Linked DNA regions of Homo sapiens: all the other regions are linked to region 3. The links are contacts of gene promoters, found by promoter capture Hi-C in blood cells and fetal thymus (Javierre and others, 2016). All regions are on one chromosome and are shown on one strand. The core of a region is centred on a gene start or on the middle of the fragment in contact, and the rest is flanking DNA. Distances in the headings are between cores, read along the strand shown.

Evidence for each region. The method cuts DNA at HindIII sites, captures the fragments that hold promoters and counts their contacts. A CHiCAGO score of 5 or more calls a contact.
Region 1: a contact is called between a fragment that was not itself captured here and the fragment with the promoter of FAM210B in region 3, in 1 of 17 cell types (endothelial precursors). The highest score is 6.3, in endothelial precursors.
Region 2: a fragment that was not itself captured here is called in contact with the fragment with the promoter of FAM210B in region 3 in 1 of 17 cell types (non-activated CD4 T cells); the score reaches 5.3 in non-activated CD4 T cells.
Region 4: a contact is called between a fragment that was not itself captured here and the fragment with the promoter of FAM210B in region 3, in 1 of 17 cell types (total B cells). The highest score is 5.4, in total B cells.

The regions. Positions count from the first base shown.
Region 1 is chr20:54,659,315-54,662,014 of GRCh38, reverse strand. No RefSeq gene overlaps it. Among named protein-coding and RNA genes, the nearest start is that of DOK5, 190 kb to the right of the region's middle. RefSeq lists an enhancer at 1-89. The HindIII fragment of the contact is 4,644 bases long and covers 1-2,700 here.
Region 2 is chr20:57,379,305-57,382,210 of GRCh38, reverse strand. It overlaps LOC124904938 (a long non-coding RNA gene), which reads left to right. Exons shown (of 2, transcript XR_007067671.1): 1 at 1-2,906. Among named protein-coding and RNA genes, the nearest start is that of RBM38, 11 kb to the left of the region's middle. RefSeq lists an enhancer at 144-438. The HindIII fragment of the contact is 2,256 bases long and covers 128-2,383 here.
Region 3 is chr20:56,357,714-56,360,656 of GRCh38, reverse strand. FAM210B (family with sequence similarity 210 member B) reads right to left here and starts at 1,683. Exons shown (of 3, transcript NM_080821.3): 1 at 1,466-1,683. The coding sequence starts at 1,651. RefSeq lists a silencer at 1,407-2,006. The HindIII fragment of the contact is 7,749 bases long and covers 1-2,943 here.
Region 4 is chr20:58,299,032-58,301,769 of GRCh38, reverse strand. It overlaps the pseudogene PPP4R1L. Among named protein-coding and RNA genes, the nearest start is that of RAB22A, 9.3 kb to the left of the region's middle. The HindIII fragment of the contact is 3,290 bases long and covers 1-2,738 here.

The DNA of each region.
Region 1 (2,700 bases), core at 53-2,552, 1.7 Mb after region 3:
TTAAATGACTGGACTGCGAGTTTTAAAAGGCGAGCATCAGTCCTGGGTGGGAGCCACATGAAGAAGCACAAAAGAGACAGAAAAAGTCAACGAACAATCCCCAGTCCCGCTCAGTTGCCTTCTTCTCAAGGGGCACCTTCAGGACAGGGCGGCTACGGAATCAGGAGACCCAGTGTAAAATGAAAACGTGAACTTCCTGTTCCAAAAGCAGGAAAAAAAGTGGGTCAAAGGAACTAAAATACAAACATTTTTCCTTTCTTCCTCTCAACTTGTCATTGTAGGTTTTTTATTGCTATTTGATGTCATAAGTAAAAACAAAAAACTGAAATTTTAAATTATGGGCATGAATTTCACCATTTACCTTTATATTGTATAATGTCCTTTCTAAATGTTAATATAAGAACATGTAATTCATGTGCTGAATCACGAAAATTACACAGCTCATTTTTCCTAGCTCATATACTTGCTTATGTGTTCTCTTCTTGCCAAAACAGCAGAAATGCTGCATAGAACTACCCCACTTCTTTGCATCTCATTACTTGATACATGCATATTCTACCGACACTCCACTGTCAGAGTCATTTGAACCAGAGCAACTCCATCTTGAATACGAGCTGGGTAGAATAAAGCTGAGACCTACTGGGCTGCATTCCCAGATAGTTATGGCATTCTAAGTCACAGGATGAGATTGGAGGTCTGCAAAATACAGGTCATAAAGACCTTGCTGATAAAACAGGTTGCAATAAAGAAGCGGGCTAAGACTCATCAAAACCAAGGTGGCGATGAGAGTGACCTGTGGTCGTCCTCACTGCTACACTCCCACCAGCACCATGACAGTTTACAAAATCCATGGTAATGTCAGGAAGTTCCCCTGCATGGTCTAAAAAAGGGGAGAATCCTCAGTTACAGAAATCACCCACTCCTTTCCTGGAAAACTCATGAATAATCCACCCCTTGTTTAGCATATAATCAATAACCATAAAAATGGGCAACCAGCAGCCCTTAGGGCTCCTCTGCCTATGGAGGAGCCATTCTTTTATTTCTTTACTTTCATAATAAACTTGCTTTCACTTTATAGACTCACCTCAAATTCCTTCTTGTGTGAGATCCGAGAACCCTCTGTTTGGGTCTGGATTGGGACCCTTTTCCAGTAACACTACCACTGGCTTACTGATGAACAAGGAAGGAAATCCGGGTTGCTCCAGATTTGCTTTTCCTTCTGTGTTGTACGAGGAAGCAATGTACGTAAGAAAGGTTGAAATAGGCTTCCTCAGATGTTTATATTTCTTAGAATGCCATTGCCTTCTTTCTGCATTTGAAGCAAGCTCTGATTCAAAGGAAAAGCCGCTTCGGGGCCGTGGCCCCTCTTACTCAGCGACAGAGGTGACATACTTCCCTTTTGAACCCCAGGTATCTGAGACAGGTCTCAATTTAGGAAGTTTATTTGGCCAAAGTTTAGCACACACGCCCATGACACAGCCTCAGGAGGTCCTGATGACAGGTGCCCAGGGTGGTCAGGGCATAGCTTGGTTTTATATATTTTAGGGAGACATGAGACATCAATCAATACATGAAAGATGTACACTGGGGCCGGGTGTGGTGGCTTACACCTGTAATCCCGGCACTTTGGGAGGCCAAGGCAGGTGGATCACGAGGTCAGGAGTTCAAGACCAGCCTGGCCAACGTGGTGAAACCCCGTCTCTACTAAAAATACAAAAAATTAGCCGGGCGTAGTGGCGGATGTCTGTAATCCCAGCTACTCGGGAGGCTGAGGCAGAGAATTGCTTGAACCCGGGGAGCGGAGGTTGCAGTGCGCTACTGCACTCCAGCCTGAGTGACAGAGTAAGACTCTGTCTCAAAAATAAAAATAAAAAATAAAAAAAAAAAGTACACTGATTCAGTCTGGAAAGGTGGGACTTGAAACGGAGAGGGGCCTTCCAGGTCATAGGTAGGTAAGAGACAAATGGTTGCATTCTTTTGAGTTTCTGATTAGCCATTCCAAAGGAGGCCATCAGATATGCGTTTATCTCAGTGAGCAGAGGGATGACTTTGAATTCTGTCTATCTTTTGTCCACAAGGAAATTCCTAGGGAGGGAAGTATGCAGCTGTTTTATCTTAGTAGCTATCATTTTAGGTATAGAGTGGAAGTTAGGTTTGCCCTAAGCAGTTCCCAGCCTGACTATTTTTCCCTTTGGCTTCATGATTTTGGTGTCCCAAGATTTATTTTCCTTTCATAGTTTGTATTTGCGTTGGGACTCACTGCCACGCACCTCAGGTCCCCTGGAATTCTGTGTTCATGGGGCATCGTGAATGCTACATGCAAATAAAGCTGCAAGGCGCTCACTCAGTCTGCAGATATCTCTTCTGCTCACAGGCAGGCTCCATTATTCCATCAGACTTTACTTATAAAACACAAGTTCAAAGAAGGAAACACTGAGAATTTCAAGAAGGTTACAGCAGAGCATTAAATCAAGTGTGGGACGCTTCTGAGCATGGGGACCTGTGCAGCTGCCTGGGTTGCACATCCATGAAACCAGCCCTGCTTGTGTGTCCTATACAGGGCTAGGCACTCAAGCCACAGAACCTGCATCTCAGGGCTGTCCCCAGGCAGAAGGCAATGCAGAGCGGGAGCTTTCCTGCTTTCCCTGTTCATGGTGCCCTTAATGTCACAGTGATACTTCTCCTAGTACTCTTAGGCCA
Region 2 (2,906 bases), core at 6-2,505, 1.0 Mb before region 3:
CCTCTGACAAATTATCTCCTTTAGCATTTTCCAAGGAGGCCTTCAATCTAAGTGTGTTATTTTTAAGACGATTCTTCTGACAGCATAAGCAATGTTTTGATTCTACTTCCCAAATATCCTAAAAGCTTAGCAACACAACAAAAAATGGAAGGGGGTGGCCAACACTTCATTTCTTTTAATGAACTCAAGTCTGTGAAACTGAACACAGAAACACATGCTCCAATGTTGGCATTGGGGCCATTCGCGCCATCTGCTGGCCAGACCTAAGCACAACACCCGGCTCCTGGGGAAAGAATCTTAGAGACAAGCAAGATCTCCAGTCACTTGGTCTCTGGACCTTTTTGTCCCGCCTGTATACCGACAGCACAGCCCCATTGAGCAGGAGACTTCTCATGGATGTCATCCTCACTGGCACTCGTAGTAGCAGCTACATTCAAACTCCACATCACGGGCCAGCCACAGGGGCACTTTTACGCTTTAACTCTTTGACTACTCACACAACCATTATGATAGCTACTTTTAATGTCTCCCATTTTACAGATGAGGTCACTGAGGCTCAGAGGGTTAAATCACAGGCTTAAACAAAGGGTAAATCACATGTTAGCAAAGTTGGTGACAGAGTTGGAATTGAAGGTGGGCAGTCCAATTTCAAGTACATGTTTTTTTGTTTTTTGAGACGGGGTCTCACTCTGTCGTGATCTAGGCTCACTGCAATCTCCACCTCCTGGGCTCAAGCACTTGAGCAATTCTCACGCCTCAGCCTCCCCAGTAGCCGGGATTACAGGCAGGTGCCACCGTGCCCAGCAAATTTTTGTATTTTTAGTAGAGACGGGTTTTGCCTTGTTGGCCAGGCTGGTGTGGAACTCTCGGCCTCAAGTGGCCCGCCTGCCTCGGCCTCCCAAAGTGCTGGGATTACAGGCATGAGCCACCGCACCCAGCCCCCTGTTCTTAATTGCAATGTTATAAGGTTATTTCAAATATAATTAATATAATCATCCCTCCCATTTTGGGGAGACCTCAAGTGCAGTTATGGCTTAGTACTTGAGGTCACCGAAGCTAAGAACTCATCCTAAACCATACAAAAAGTGACAGGCACAGAGAAGAATCCCACCCCAGGATATGAAAATATCTCATACATACATAGATTCTGTGATTTTGTGTGGCTCCACTAAAAGAAACGCTCACTGCAACAACTACGTTCATTTCACAACCTACGAATGGGTCATGAGTGAATTCGGAAAAGGCTGGCTTAGGCACTCCCGAGTGTTCAAGAACATGTGTTTAGTTCATGTTTTAGAGTCTCTCCTCCAAAAGAGACGAAAATTTTGGTTGAATGAGAAAAACAAACATTTCCTACATGACTCAATAAAATTTCTTTGAGACAGGGTCTTGCTTTGTTGCCCAGGCTGGTCTGGAACTCCTGGCCTCAAGTGATCCTCCCGCCTTGGCCTCCCAAAGTGCTGAGACTCCAGGCGTGAGCCACCACGCCTGGCCCTTGCTGTTTACCTTCTCTTGGTGGTGATTTTCTGGTGAAAGTCAGCAAGCTCACTGCCAGCAGGCCAGGCACTTGCCGCATCCTTTGTTCTTCCTCTGCCAGAGGATCTCTGGTGTGAAGCTAACCCGAAAACGGGGTGAGGCAGGCGGGTTCAGCTGGCCCCTTTGACTGAGAGGGTTTTCACAGGCAGGCTCACATGCACACGTGCACACACGTGAGCACAGGCTCACAGACAGGTGTCTCACACAAACCCACCACAGCTCCATCCTGCTTCCAACCAAACATGACAGGAACCGAGTGCACCTTCCTGTGCCCACCCTAAATCCCTGCCACCTTGTTGCAGCAGCATCTTTACACAAAGTTCTTCCCATGAGGCCCTGTTCCCACAGTGAGGAACCAAGGAAGCGATGTTACAACAAAGACTGGGAGGAAAGCCAGGCAAAACCAAGCAGAAAATCAAGGGAAAGGTGAGTGTTCATGGTGGCATCCTGGTGGCAGGCAGATGGCAGGTGTATGTTCACTGCCAAAACCCTTTCCACTTTTGTGGATGTTTTAAAATTTTCATATGTTGGAAAAAATTAAGTGAAAGAACACAATTTGTCTTCTCCATGAGGTTTATATACTTTACTTTCAACGAAAGCAGCTCTTAACAGGGTGTGCAGTCAATATTTAATGGCAGGACGGCTTGACATTTAGTGAAACAAAGAGCCAAGATTACACTAGTATCTCTTTGAAGTAGAAGATGCCATCAAACTTATGAATACTTAATGAGCACCTACTGCATGCAACTTACAGGTGCCTGCAAAGATGCTGAAGTTTAAGATGAAGAGTTCCTCTAAGACTTCATATGCATTTTAGGAAACATGAACATAAATATTTGAAGAAGCTTAACGATCTCAGTGAATACTTCCTAGATCCTCATTAGCAAACATGTAGTGTGCTTTTATGCTTTAGGTCCTGGGCAGCAGAGAAATGAGCCTGGGCCTCATCTAGGGTTCACATCCTGGTGGCAGCAGAGCTCCCTCCCAGGTTCTGACAGCCCAGTCCAATCTTGGATTTATGCAAATGTTTTAAATTTGCCAATTACAAAAACTATCCCCTTGGGGAGGTGGCAAGGTCCCATCCTGGGAAAGCGCACTCTAAAAGGCCTGCAATTTAGACTCATTTTCCACCCTAGCCCGTCACTAGGGGTGGTAAAAACAATGAAACTCTGGCTAAGCTAAAGCTGAATATGAAAGTTGGCTGCTGAGATAATCAAGCTTCAATCTCCCCTCACAGCAGTCTTATGCTAGCTAGATCTTCCCCACGTTGATAAGACCACAGGCTTGATTCATAAAGTGAAGAGGAAAATGAGCTGGAAACCGTTAACCTGAAAATTCAGATATTTTTCTAGTGCACCTGCTTTTTTATC
Region 3 (2,943 bases), core at 434-2,933:
TTTAGGACACACCAGATGCCAGGTATGAACATATCTCATTTTACATTCATATTCTATGAAGTCTGAATTATTAACGTCCCATTTTACAGATGAGGGGCCTGAGATAGAGAGAAGGGAATTTGATCAAAGTCAACAACAAGTGAGTAGAGAGAGGAATCCAGGGAGTCTGAGGCCAACTCTTTGCCACTGTATACACACACACCGCTCCAGTGCCAGGGCCTGAGCTGGGGACAAGGTCAATGTGGCTGACAGGCAGGACAAGAGGCCATTCCAGATGAGTGCAGAGAAGACCCACAGCCATGGGGTGGAAGCAGGCCCAGTGGAGGCATCCGAGACCTCACAGGTCGTTAGAGAGGGCTTCCCGGAGGAAGGAACAGCTGGGCTGGGCCCTGAAGAATCATCAGGAGGCGGCACGGTGTGTGCAGAAGGTGCCACTCTGGAGAGGATCCCCAAGACCTGTGTGCCACCTGTCGGACTGGAGAAGGCAAGGAAGGAAGTTGATCTGGGCAGGAGGCATGATGAAAGCCTGGGTCCAATCCCCATCCGCTCCTTACTGAAAAGCTAGGAAACGGTCAGGAGATGTTCGCTGGGCCGGCGGCACTCCGCTGAGGCCTGCACCAGCTCATGGAGTTGTCTCCCAAACTCTTGCTGGGAAGGTGCTATTTTTGGCCCTCTAAAGGTCAGAAAACAAGCTCAAAAGCCTTCAGGACTCGGTCTGAGGTCACCGGGCGATGAATGGAGGGGCCCTGTCTGCACCCAGGCAAACAAAGAGGCTCCAGACTGCCAGGCCGGATGCGCTCCGGGCTGGACGCCGGCTCCGCGTGTCTGGGCTTGCCATTCCTGGACCGCCAGACTTCATTTACTACTATTTTTATTTAAAAAGACTCACTTGGAAGAAAGTGATAGATTTCTTGAAAGGAAAGCTGGTATGACTGCTCTGAAGGAAAACCAGTTTTCACTTAGCACCAATGGAAAGTGACGGAAATGAAACATAACAAACAGCACTGTGGGTTTCTTGCCCGCGGCTTCCCTGAGGACGCCTGCTCTTCCACTCAGAAGAAAAGGGAGGAGCAGCGAGCGTCGGGAGGTGTTCAAAACACAGCGAGACCCAGCCAGAAGGCCTGGACAACAACTCCGCAGGCAACGTGTGGAAGTTCAGACCAAGTCAGTCGGCTGCGCCCCAGCCTGGCTGAGGCTCTGCAGACCCGGGGCTCGGCCGAAGACTGCGCGACCTTGGGCAGAGCGCCACACCTTCCCGAGCCTCAGTTTCTCTGGCTGTCAACTAGGAGGATCGCTTCCTTGGCTTGCAGGGATTTGGGGTTTCGGGGACCCTGGAAGAGCTCGGTCCCGGGCAGCTACAAGTGCAAAGGCGTCCTTGGCGGAGGCGGCCGGACCCCGGCGCGGCCCTGCGGACGTCTGGGGACCTGGACACCGCCCGGGATCAGGGTCGGGGTGGGGTGCTTACCTGGTGGCCGCGGCAGTCCCCGCGCGCCGTGCGGAGCAGCCGGGCGTCTAGCCTGGGCGGGAGCAGGGCCAGGGCCAGGGGCGGCGGGGCGCAGGGGGCGGTGGCGCCCAGGAGCCAGGTGGCGCGAGGCCGGACCCGGGCGCCCACCCTGCCTGCCGGACCCAGCAACGCCAGCAACCCGGCCATGGTGCGCAGCTAGGCGCAGCACCCGCGCCGCTGACCCGGGAGGCGGGCGGAGGCCGGGGAGGGTGGGCGGAGCTGACCCGGCGAGGGCCCTCCCCGGCCCCGCCCGCCGGCTTCGCCGCCGCGCGCGCGCGCTGGGCGGGACTGAGGAGGCCTGTGCACATCCCCTTGGCTCACCCGCTAGCTCCGCTCCTCGGGAGCCGGAGTCCAGGGCTGGTGGGCGGGGCTGAAGGAGCGCGCCCCGCCTCCTCTCCGCCCACCAGCCCCGCCCCTTTGGGGGTGGGTGCAGGTCTTTTCAGGGTCTTGGGCTTTCTAACTGTGGTGTGTAGTTGGCGGGTTTCCTTATTCTGCGGGCACAAAGGTGGGCGTAGGGCCGTGGCTTATGAGCTTTTCTCCCTGCAGAAATGGGTGAAATCTGAAAAAAAATTATAGATATGTTTACGTGTTAGCTCCAAAGAAGAAAATAAATATGAGAATTGATATTAGTACATGTTTAATAAAAAGTCCTCTGACCCTCATAGATTGTTGGCGTGAATGTAAAGCGAAAGATGGTGTGGCAGTTTCTTGAAAAGTTAGACATACACTAACCATACAACCCAGCAACTCCACTCCTCGGTAGCTTCTCAAGAGAAACAAAGGCTCGACACTCAAAGACTAAAATGTGAAGACACCAATGTTTGTAGAGATCTTATAAATATTAGTCAACAATTAGGAATGCCCATAAACTGGGACGTACTGTGGCACAAGTCTTCAATGGGACGCAATGCAACAATTAAAGGGAACAGACTACTGATACATGCACAACATAAATGAATCTCAAAGCTCTTATGCCAATTGAAAAAATCTAGGCACAAAAGTCACACACTGGAGGATTCCAGCTACATGAAGTGCCCAGAATAGGCAAAATCACAGAGACCTAAAACAGATCCGTGGTGGCCTAGGGCTGGGAGTGGGAAATGAGATTGACTGCCAAGGAGTGGGAGGAACGTCTTGGGGTGAGGGAAGGATCCTAAACCCAGATTGTAGGGATGGTGACAGCTGTGTAACTAAAACTCGTGGGACTGTACACTTAACATGGATGAATTTTATGCTGTGTAAATTATACTTCAATAAAGATGTTCTGGCTGGGTGGAATGGCTCATGCCTATAATCCAAGCACGTTGGGAGGCTGAGGTGGGAGGATTACTTGAGCTCAGGAGTTCAAGACCAGCCTGAGCAACATAGCGAAACCCTGTCACTACAAAAATAAAAATAAATTAGCCTGGTGTGGTGGCATGCACCTGTAGTCCCAACTA
Region 4 (2,738 bases), core at 202-2,701, 1.9 Mb before region 3:
TCGCATGAAGAGCCAGAGAAAGCCTCCTGCATACAGCTCTTCCTTGTCAAGGACTAGCAGGAAGGCCTGTGTGTCTGGAACAGTGAATAACAGACACAGGAGGTGAGAGGAGGAGGTGGGGGCCAGGCCATACATAGCCCTTAAGTCCATTGTAAGGTAAAGTGTTGGCCTTTTATCCATGGAGTCATGGGAACCACTGGAGAATCTGAACCAGGGAGTGACTAGAGCTGCTCTGTGCTTTAAAGAAAGGAAAGACTGGTGGAGGAAAAGCTGGGGTGGGGTCCCCAGTGTGTTCCCGTGGTTCAGGCGAGGGGAGTGGGGTCTCAATCAAGGAGATGAGCCCGGGAGTGGGGAATAGGGTTGACAGATAGTTCCAGTGGTGAGGGAAGGGTCAACTCAGAGACAGGGTCTCGTGGAGAACTTTTCTGACACCTCCATTCCCTTCTACCCAGACTGGGCTAGACACTCCTTCTTTGTGTTTCCTGAGCCCTGTATTTTCCTGTGGCAGCATTTGCTAATTTACTAATAGCATTGACCATTAGAATGGGTCTTATCCTTCTTTGGGTCCCTGTGGTCTAACATAGTGAATGGCACTGGACAGCACATGAGAAGCAATGACACAGATCCTGGTGGCATTGTTGAGGACACCAGAAAGCCCCCTTGTAGGGTTCTGGAGCACAGTTAGGACTGGAGAGGAGATGTGAAAGTCATTAGTGGTGAGTGGTAGCTGGAGCAGGATGAGAGGGAGCAGGATGAGAGGGAATGTTGGAGAAGAAGGCGAAGGGGTACACCCTGGGCAGCAGAGGCTTCTAGAAATTAGCCATGGAGTTAAGAAACCAGGAGACCCTTGGAGCCAGGGTTTTGATTGGATAATCATTTATTTATGTCACTTGCCCCGGAAGGGTCAGGTAAGATGAGGATTGAAGACAGGCCATGGAGTTTGGCAGTTAGGGCGTCTTCACTCACCTCAGTGAGTAGTTCAGCACAGCCAAGAAGTGGAAGCCAGATTGGAGTTAATTGAGAAGGTTTTGGAAGTTGAGGCAGTGTGGTCTGGAATCCAGTAGCTCAGTGGTCAAAGTGTCCCATGCCTGGTAGCCAAGGCGAAGAATACAGCAGGCTGTGGCTAGGCACTGGGCACTTTGAGGAATGGTCACTGCGTTTGGGACTCACAGCCCAGCAGGAGAAAGCACAGCCTTTCAAGAAGCAGCTGGAGGGCTTCAAGAGGCTTTTCGTCAGGGATGGAAGATTCCAGCACAGATTTGCATGATTTATATGTACTCTGAAAACCTTAAAAAAAGAATTTGAATAACCCACCAATTCTCCTGGTTATATGCCCAACAAAACATAGACATATATTCTCAAAAAACATGTTCATAGTCGCATGATTCTCTTTTTTTGAGTTGGAGTCTTGCTTTGTCTCCAGGCTGGAGTGCAGTGGCGTGATCTTGGCTCACTGCAACCTCTGCCTCCTGGGTTTAAGCGATTCTCCTGCCTCAGCCTCCTGAGTAGCTGGGACTACAGGCGCGCCACCAGGTCCAGCTAATTTTTGTACTTTTAGTACAGTCGGGGTTTCCATGTTGGCCAGGATGGTCTCGATCTCTTGACCTCATGATCTGCCTGCCTCGGCCTCCCAAAGTGCTGGGATTTCAGGCGTGAGCCACCGTGCCGGGCCAGTTGCATGATTCTTAAGAGTTGGAAACTGCAATCTACTCAAATATTTATCATGACTACAAAGGATTATAAATTCTGGTATGTTCACACAATGGAAAACCATGCAGCTGTAAGAATGAATGATCTATAGCTCTAATCAGTAATATGGATAATTTCACAAACATCTGAAAAGCCAGACACAAAAGGGTACACACTACATGGTTCTATTTGTACAAACTATAAAACGATGCAAAGCGAATCTAGGCTGTCAGAAGGCAGGAGAGTTGTTACCCATTGCGGGAGGTGGTAAGTGGAATGGAGCAAGAGGTGGTTTTGGAGATGCTGGTAAAGTTACCTTGCTTGGTCTGAGAGCATTGCTTGATTGTTTTAGCTATTTTGAACAGTACGAAAATAGAGGACCCTATACCCCAATACTCATCCCAAAGATTTTGACTGTCTTCTACAACCATTTTTTTCTTTTGCATCTACCTCAAGTCTGACTAGAGAACTCATTGCATTTTTAAGTAATATTGTTCCATTCATTCATTCATTAACGCCGTGTAGACTTTACCACCCTCATCTTCTTCAACTCCCTCCCTCAAGTGGGCGAGTTGGCAGGAGAATGGAGATTGGTAACATTAAAATGGAGCATATGAACTGCTTTGAGCTGCAGAGTTCTTTCCTATCAGGTAACCTGTTTCCCATTGACTGTCAACTTAAAAGTCAGAGTCGGCGGGGCATGGTGGCTCACGCCTGTAATTCCAGCACTTTGGGAGGCCAAGGCAGGTGGTTCACCTGAGGTCAGGAGTTTGTGACCAGCCTGGCCAACATGGTTAAACCCTGTCTCTACTAAAATTACAAAAAAAAAAAAAAAAAAAAAAAAATTAGCCGGGCATGCTGGCACATGCCTGTAATCCCAGCTACTCAGGAGGCTGAGGCAGGAGAGTCGCTTGAACCTGGGAGGTGGAGGTTGCAGTGAGCCAAGATCACGCCATTGCACTCCAGCCTGGGCAACAAGAGTGAAACTCCATCTCAAAATAAAAGTAAATAAAAGAGTCATAAATAATGATGGGTTTTGGAAGCCATGA